Regions from separate parts of the Homo sapiens genome. Here region 2 is linked to region 1. Evidence: promoter capture Hi-C in human tissues and cell types (Jung and others, 2019). All regions are on one chromosome and are shown on one strand. Each heading gives the region's core, a stretch centred on a gene start or on the middle of the fragment in contact. The rest is flanking DNA. Distances are from core to core; before and after follow the strand shown. Region 1 holds the start of F13B (coagulation factor XIII B chain). Region 2 overlaps CFHR2 (complement factor H related 2).

Region 1 (4,367 bases), core at 1,740-4,239:
TTCTCCGCTCATATCTTGTGTCATTTTTTTGATATCCTTAAGTTGGATTTCACCTCTCTCTGGTGCCTCCTTGATTAGCTTAATAATCAAACTTCTGAATTCTTTTTCTGGCAGTTCAGGAATTTCTTCTTGGTTTGGATCCATTGCTGATGAGCTAGTGTGATTTTTGGGTGGTGTTAAAGAACCTTGTTTTGTCATAATACCAAAATTGTTTTTCTAGTTCCTTCTCTTTTGGGTAGGCTATGTCAGAGGGGAGATCTGGGGCTCAAGGCTGCTGTTCAGATTCTTTTGTCCCACGGGGTGCTCCCTTGATGTAGTATTCTCCCCCTTTTCCTAGGGATGTGACTTCCTGAGAGCCAAACTGTAGTGATTATTATTACTTTTCTGGATCTAGCCACCAGAAGGGCTACCAGGCTCTGGGCTGGTACTGGGGGTTGTCTGCATAGAGTCCTGTGATGTAAACTGTCTTCAGTTCTCTCAGTCATGGATACCAGCACCTGTTCCAGTAGAGGTGGCAGGGGAGTGAAAGGAACTCTGTGAGGGTCCTTAGTTGTAGTTGTTTGATGCACTAGTTTGGTGCTGGTTGGCCTCCTGCTGAGAGGTGAAGCCAGCTGGACTTCCTGGGTCGAATGGGGACTTGGAGAACTTTTCTGTCTAGCTAAAGGATTGTAAACACACCAATCAGCGCTCTGTGTCTAGCTAAAGGTTTGTAAATGCACCAATCAGCACTTTGTAAAAACAGACCAACCAGCACTCTGTAAAATGTGCCAATCAGCGGGATGTGGGCGGAGCCAAATAAGGGAATAAAAGCTGGCCACCCGAGCCAGCCGCAGCAACCTGGTCTGGTCCCCTTCCAGGCTGTGGAAACTTTGTTCTTTCGCTCTTTGCAATAAATCTTGCTGCTGCTCTCTTTTTGGGTCTGCACTACCTTTATGAGCTGTAACACTCACCGCGAAGGTCTGTGGCTTCACTCCTGAAGTCAGCAAGACCTCGAACCCACCAGGAGGAAGAAACAACTCCGGACGCACCATCTTTTAGAGCTGTAACACTCACTGTGAAGGTCTGCGGCTTCACTCCTGAAGTCAGCAAGACCAGGAACCCACCAGAAGGAAGAAACTCTGGACACATCTGAACATCAGAGGAACAAACTCCGGACACACCATCTTTAAAAACTGTAATGCTCACCGCAAGCGTCCGCAGCTTCATTCTTGAAGTCAGCAAGACCAAGAACCCATTGGAAGGAACCAATTCCAGACACACTGCCATGAGGTAGTGCTTTCATGAGAGCATCAGCTGTGGTATATAGGGGAGGATCAGGTGGTGGGTGGGACACTAGAACTTCCAAGAGAATATGACCTTTGTCTTCAGCTACCAGGGTGGGTAGGGAAGGACCATCAGGTGGGGGCAGGGTTAGGCATGTCTGAGCTCAGAGTCTTCTTGGGTGGGGCTTGTTGTGGCTCTGTGGGGAATGGGGGTGTGATTCCCAGGTTAATGGAGTTACCTTCCCAGGAGGATTATGGCTGCCTCTTCTGTGTCATGCAGGTTGTCAGGGAAGTGGGGGAAAGCTGGCAGTTACAGACCTCACCCAGCTCTCACACAACCCAACAAGCAAATCTCACTTCTACTGTGTTCCCCCAAAAAGCACCGAATTTGTTTCCAGGCAGTAGGGGAGCAGGATTGAGAACTTGCCCCAGGCTACTAGCCTCCCAGCTGAGAATGCAAGCCAGACTTTTGTGCCTCCCTACCTGTTAAGTCTGCACACCAGATTCACGCCCTTTCCTGAGTTCTGGACAGGAAAGTTTGTGTTCGGTTGGAATTGTTACTAAGTTCAGCTGGAGGTTTCCTTCTCCCTGTGGTCTTTTCCCAGTTCCTCCGGCAGCCCCTGTGAGACAAGTCAGAAATGGCTTCTCTGGGGACCCACAGAGACGATGGGGCTTTACCCTTTGCTTCCTCTACCCCTGTATTTCGCTCAGCTCTCTAAATTGTCTGAGCTCCAGGTAAGGTCAAATCCTTCTCCTGTGATCTAGACCTTCAGGTTCCCCAAGGGTGTGTGTTCAGGGGTGGACAATACCCCTTTCACACTTTTCACAGTTTGGGCATTCACAGTATGTGGGCTATTTTCTGGGTCATGCAGGAGCAATATACTTTCTTCAGAGGGTCTGTGGATTATCTTGGCTTTCCTGTTATATCCTTGCAGCAGTTCTTGGAGCAAAAGTTCACAATGCGAGTCTCCACATCCTGCTCTGTCCATCCAAGTGGGAGCTGCAAGTTAGTCCTGCCTCCTATCCACCATTTTTTCCTATTTTGTATTTTAAATTAAAACTCATTAGAATGTAAACTCCATGAGGGCAATAATTTTAATCCAGTTTTTTCACTGCTAAATACCTCAAAACTGTTACATGTGCTGCCATTATCATGGACGTTCTAAACATTTCTCATGAATGAATGTTGATATAGCACAGTGCTGATCTCACCACCTGCCACAAAGTAAAAACTCTCTAAATGTCAAACACTACTATTATAAGTAATACTATTCTATCATTGAGACAACTATGGTTCTGTATCTCTTTAAGGAGTGCAGTCTAGGCAACAACATATTTCAACATCAGGTATCTGTTATCTCATGTTCCTAAGTTCATCTTTTTACCTGATCAATATTAGTAAAGATCTATGGCCTCAAGTGAACTTTACTCTATGAATTTACAATTGGGAACTTAGGTTGAAAATTTACCTAGTATTATTTATTCTGCTGCTATAATTTATTATTTATTCTGCTGCTATTGTTGCCCTAATCAGTTATCATGCTCTTACTGGACTCTGACATGGTAAGTAATGTCAATTAATATAGTTGTGTTATTTTAACATTATTTCAAAATATTTTAAGTGAAATATAAGACTCGTTACAAAAGGACTTAGACAGAGGTTATAAATTATTAACTTTTTCCTCAAGAGAAGTATTGTGTACTTAATGACAAGTTCCTAGTGCTTAGAATTGTTAAAATCTTTGTGAAGCACACCACTGAAGATGAGGTTGAAAAACCTGACTTTTATCATCATATTGATAATCTCAGGAGAACTCTATGCAGAAGGTAAAATTAATTCTTAATATTCTTTATTCTCTAAAACATACAAATGGAGATTCTAATATTTATACAACTCAAGTTTTAATATACTCTTCTATTTTCATTATCAATTTTATAACATATTTTATAAATATAACTTTTTATAATATTTAGACCTTTTCCTTTGAGCAAAATTAGTAAAGTGTTCTTACAGTAGCATAAGTCAGAAAAGCAAAACAAAACAAAAACCCTTGTATCTCTAGGGGGCATAGGAGACCAGGATCTAAATACTTCGAAAAGGTTTTCAGGTTAACAATATGTCCATTTCGAAGTCACATGTTAACTTTAATTCTAAATTTATGCTAGAATCCATTCCTAATACTGACAAAACTTGTACAATTTTAATTCTGTTCATAAGGTGAGAGTTTAATGTGGGAAATTTGAAAAGGAAATAGCCATAAATATTTTTTACTTTTGAGACTTTGATTTTTATCACAATGAATTATTCATTTGTTGGAGACATTAAGTAGTGATTAGTAGGTGAACCATATAATTGCTTGTACAAACAGGGACACTTAGAGAGTAAAAGAGGGGCTCTATTAATAACTGTTTGGACAACACATGTAAATCAGGACTTTCCAAACAAACCAATACCTATGGACTCCCTATTAGAAAGCTTTATAGTCAGATTGCCCAATGTGTAAGATTAGTGTGCGAGTGGAAGCTAGGCAGTGTACATGGGTATGTTGTTCAGGAACATTATCAATATTATCAGGCCATAGGATGAAGAATCCAGGGAGGACACTTAGCATTAGCAAGAGTGAACATACAAAGAAGGAAGCTACAGCAATACAGCTTTTCTAAAATAAACATTTTTGGGAATTTGTTGAAATTAAATACATAAGTTTTAACTGTGTTTTAGTTGAATAGTTAACTATAAATTTTCTACCAAAACATCTATAATTAAAATTATAAAAGTGAAAGACACAGAATTAATCTTATTTTATACTTTTAATTCTATAATAGGATGATTTTTGCATGAATTTCTTTTGATTTTATTTTTCTGTCTAAATAGGGAAATACCAGCAGATATAATTGTCTGTTATCTATACCATAAAGACATTGCAATATTCTAGTTAATTTTCTAATTATTATAAGGTTATAATGCTATTTTACACAACAAAAAAAAAAGTAAGCTGCTTGAAGACCAAGACAATGATTTTATTTTTGCATGCTTCTCTCAACTCCCATTGTGCACTTCAGGGACAAGAATTGAATTAATTGTGTTTCTCATTTCATGGTATG
Region 2 (4,182 bases), core at 217-2,716, 120 kb after region 1:
AGGAGAAAGATCATTGCTATCTCCTTTGTTGCCTCATCTATCTGTCTCCCAGTTGTTTTCTCTTTTAATATACCTGTTATCATTGGAGTCTGCTCTCTACATTTATTGGAGGGTTAATATAGCTACACTTTGAAGGACCAAAGAAATTATTTATTGAAATATAAAAGTGAAAATGCTAAACCTCCTTGTAATATGCAAAAGAATGTTAAATTCAAAACAGAATATGTATAAAATGACATTTAAAAGGAAAACTATGATCAGGCTGCTGCCAAATGAATATTAGTAAAGAAATATTAGCAGTCAAATATATTAATCATCAGTTTAAAAAAATTGATATATTTCAACATGTAGAGAATTTCCGGGTAATGCAAGACAGTTGACATATTTATTCTTCATTGATTCTCATAGGAGCCATCTCAAAATAGAAGGACTACATCTCCCATCTTTCCAGCTCCTCTGGTCACTGCTCCTGTGATTATCAAGTGTTTATGATCTTGTCTGGCATATCCTTCTCTGTTCATTGAATGACATCCATTTAATGAACAGGGCATTTACTCACTGAGACACTTTGGTGTTGGTGACCATCCTTCTTCTGCGCACGTTATGCGAGTCCAAAAGGATTTTGAAGGAGACACAAAATTATATTCACAGGAGTAATAGAAAACTTCCCCTGTAGGAACTTGGGAAAATGGCTTATATTTTTCTTCATCATATAGAATTCCATGGTTTATTTTTGGAAAATCACAGAACATTGCTGGGAAAATAACACAAAACTGAAGAATTACATAATAAGCTACATAAATAAATCACTAGACTATATTTTAATCATCTCATTTAGTTTTTTTCTTTCATTTAGCTTAAATGCCTTTAGCTTAAATGCTCTCCAGTGTCCAAATTAGGAATGAAAAGACATCACTAACTAAGAGTACACGAGTATTTGAGGAGGTAATTGTTAATGAATATAAAATCTATATTTTGGAGTGATATGAAATATGAACTCTCCTGCAATGTCTTCAAGAAGAAAACCCTCACACAACAATTTAAGAATGAAGGCAGAGTGTAAGACTAGCAAATCTTCCTGATCTACTTAGTATACAGTAGAGGAGTGACAGGGTTGTTCTTAGCTCTCAATTTACTTATTTTCTCTATTCTCATTGACTGTCATAGGTATCTCCACCAGAAACTCTGTCCTATTTTTTTTCTGGTGCAGAAAAGATGTTGGGTAGTTAGTTTTGTTGTTTGTTTATTAATATCATTTTGAATACTTTCTGGTTACAAAGTTAATATAGTTTCAGTGGAAATAATTGAGAGAATATAAGAAAATCACTAAGAACAACTCAAGATAAAGTTAGAGCTAAATTCTGGTTAATGTTGTATATACAAATATGTATTGTATATTTGTATTTATATATTTATACTTGTATACACACATATATATACGGTCAGCCCCACTGGTTTCACATCCTCTGATTCAACCAACTGCAGATCAAAAATATTCGGAAAAAAACAATAAAAAGACAATAAAACAATAAAAATAATGCAATTAAAAATACAATATAACAACTATTTGTATAGCATTTACATTGTATTAGGTATTATAAATAATCTAGAGATTCTTTAAATTGTATGAGAGGGTTGGGTGTGGTAGCTCATACCTGTAATCCCAGCACTTTGGGAGGCTGAGGTAGGTGGATCACTTGAGGTCAGGAGTTTGAGACCAGCCTGGCCAACATGGCGAAAGCCCATCTCTACTAAAAATACAAAAATTAGCCAGGTGTGGTGGTGCACACCTGTAATCCCAGCTACTTGGGAGGCTGAGGCAGAAGAATCACTTGAACCCAGGAGGGGTATGTTGCAGTGAGCCGAGATCATGCCACTAAACACCATCCTGGGGGCGACAGAGCAAGACTCTACCTCAAAAAAAATTAAAATAAAATAAAATAAATTGTTTGGGAGGATATACACAGGTTATATACAAATACTACATCATTCTGTCTTAGAGACTTGCATATCCTTGGATTTTGGTATCTACTGGGGGTGGGTAGAGTCCTGGAACCAATTCCTTGAGGATACTAAAGGACTAGTGTATATATGTATATATACATCCATATACACGATGGTGCAGGAAAAATTAAAACAATGTAGAAAATGGGTGAAATCTTCATACTTTTTGACTCTTTCTTTGTGTACACATTCATATATATACACACATATTTTTATAAGACTTTATATTTTATTAACAAGTTTTTCACAGCAAAATTGAGTGGAAGGTAGAGATTTCTATATACCACTTCCTCTTCCCTACCACATGCATAACCTCCCTCACCGTCAATATAATTATCACCCAAAGTTCATAGTTTATGTTGGGGTTCACTCTTGATGTTGTACATTCCATGGGTTTGATATACTTTATCTTTGAGTATGTATTTAGCTCAAGATAGTTCCTCATATATTACTGCTCTTTGTTTTTATGTCAAGATATTGTTGCAATATAGTACTGTTGCATAAGAAATAATTTTATTTTTCACCTTATTTGGAAGATGTGTGCAGAAATTAAGCTGACAAATCAACAGAAATTTCTCTTTTTCATCTGTCTAGAAGTAATGTTTAATGTTGCACAATATTTGAAATATTTTCACTTTGTGAAACGTGAAACTGATTATCTAACTGTTTAAAATTTGACATTAGATAGTTTTGGTAAAGGTATTGAGGGAAAGACTCCCATCTTGATAGTATTAACCTACCATAACTCTTTTAGTTATCCTTCACTCCTCCAAAATTATAGTAGTTTATTTTCATACATTTGTACTTACATATTCTTTGCTATCCAGAATAACTTGGTTTTCATCACCCAGTTATATTGTACCTATGCTTCAGAATTAACTCTATGACATTCATCAAGTATTCATTGTGCATATCTGCAATGGTGCTAGCTAGGAGTGTTAATGTCTTCTTGCAAGCCTCCTTTACACAACCACCCACTTCAAAAGTAGAAAATAATTTTTCTTGTCTCAACATTCTGATAGAATATTATGAATATATTTCTTCTGGGATACACACACACACACACACACACACATACATATATACAGTTGTACAGATATTCACCACATAATGACATTTTGGTCAATGACTGATCGCTCATGTGACAGTGGACCCATAAGATTATAGTGTAGCTGAAAAATTCCTATCACCTAATAGCCATCATAACATAGCAGTGTAATATATTACTCACATGTTTGTGGCAATGCCGGTGTAAATAAACCTACAGCATTGCCAGTCACATAAAAATATGCCACACACAATTTTGTACAGTACATAATACTTGATGATGACAATATAGAAGTGTTACTGGTTAATGTATTTCATATAGTATAATTGTTATCAGTATTTTATAGTTAACTTCTTCTACTGGTTAAAAAAATTAACTGTAAAACGGTTAATGTTTCCTGAGGCAGATCCTTCAGGAACTATTCCAGAAGAAACCTTTGTTATCATAGGAGAGGACAGCTCCATGCCTGTTACTGCCCTGAAGATCTTCTAGTGGGACAAGAGCGGAGGAAGAAGACAGTGATACTGATGATCCTAACCCTTTGTAGGCTGAGGTTAATATGTGTGTTTGTGTCTGTTTTTAACAAAAAGGTTTAAAAAGTAAATAAATAAGTAAAATATTTAAAAGATAAAAGCTTATAGCACAAGAACAGAAAGAAAAAATCTTTTGTACATCTCTACAATGTTTTTTAAGCTAAATATTATCTCGAAAGACATAAAAATTAAAGTTGATGAAGTAAAAAGGTCAACATAAACTAAGGTTAATTTATTATCGAAGAAAAGTTTAAAATAAATTTAGTCTATCCTGGGTGCATCAAAAGCTCAGTAATTAGCACTGAAGAACTTATCCATGTAACCAAAAACCACCTGCTCCCCCAAAACTATTGAAGTAAATAAATAAATAAAATAAATTAGTTTAGCCTAAGTATACAGTGTTTATACCACCTCTAGTCGTGTATGGTGATGTTCTAAGCCATCACATTCACTCACCACTCATGTAATGACTTACTGAGAGCAACTTTCAGTCCTACACACCCTATTCATGGTAAAAGCCCTATACAAGTCTGCCGTTTTTAATATTTTATACTGTATTTTTATTGTACTTTGCTATATTGAGATAAACATATACTT

Evidence for each region. The method cuts DNA at HindIII sites, captures the fragments that hold promoters and counts their contacts. A contact is called where the count stands out against the background at its distance.
Region 2: a contact is called between a fragment that was not itself captured here and the fragment with the promoter of F13B in region 1, in 2 of the 25 tissues and cell types used here (liver and mesenchymal stem cells).

Annotation. Positions count from the first base shown.
Region 1 is chr1:197,065,882-197,070,248 of GRCh38, reverse strand. F13B (coagulation factor XIII B chain) reads left to right here and starts at 2,989. Exons shown (of 12, transcript NM_001994.3): 1 at 2,989-3,089. The coding sequence starts at 3,026. RefSeq lists an enhancer at 682-1,881. The HindIII fragment of the contact is 20,654 bases long and covers 1-4,367 here.
Region 2 is chr1:196,946,027-196,950,208 of GRCh38, reverse strand. CFHR2 (complement factor H related 2) reads right to left here. Exons shown (of 5, transcript NM_005666.4): 2 at 560-754. Among named protein-coding and RNA genes, the nearest start is that of CFHR2, 4.4 kb to the right of the region's middle. The HindIII fragment of the contact is 5,533 bases long and covers 1-4,182 here.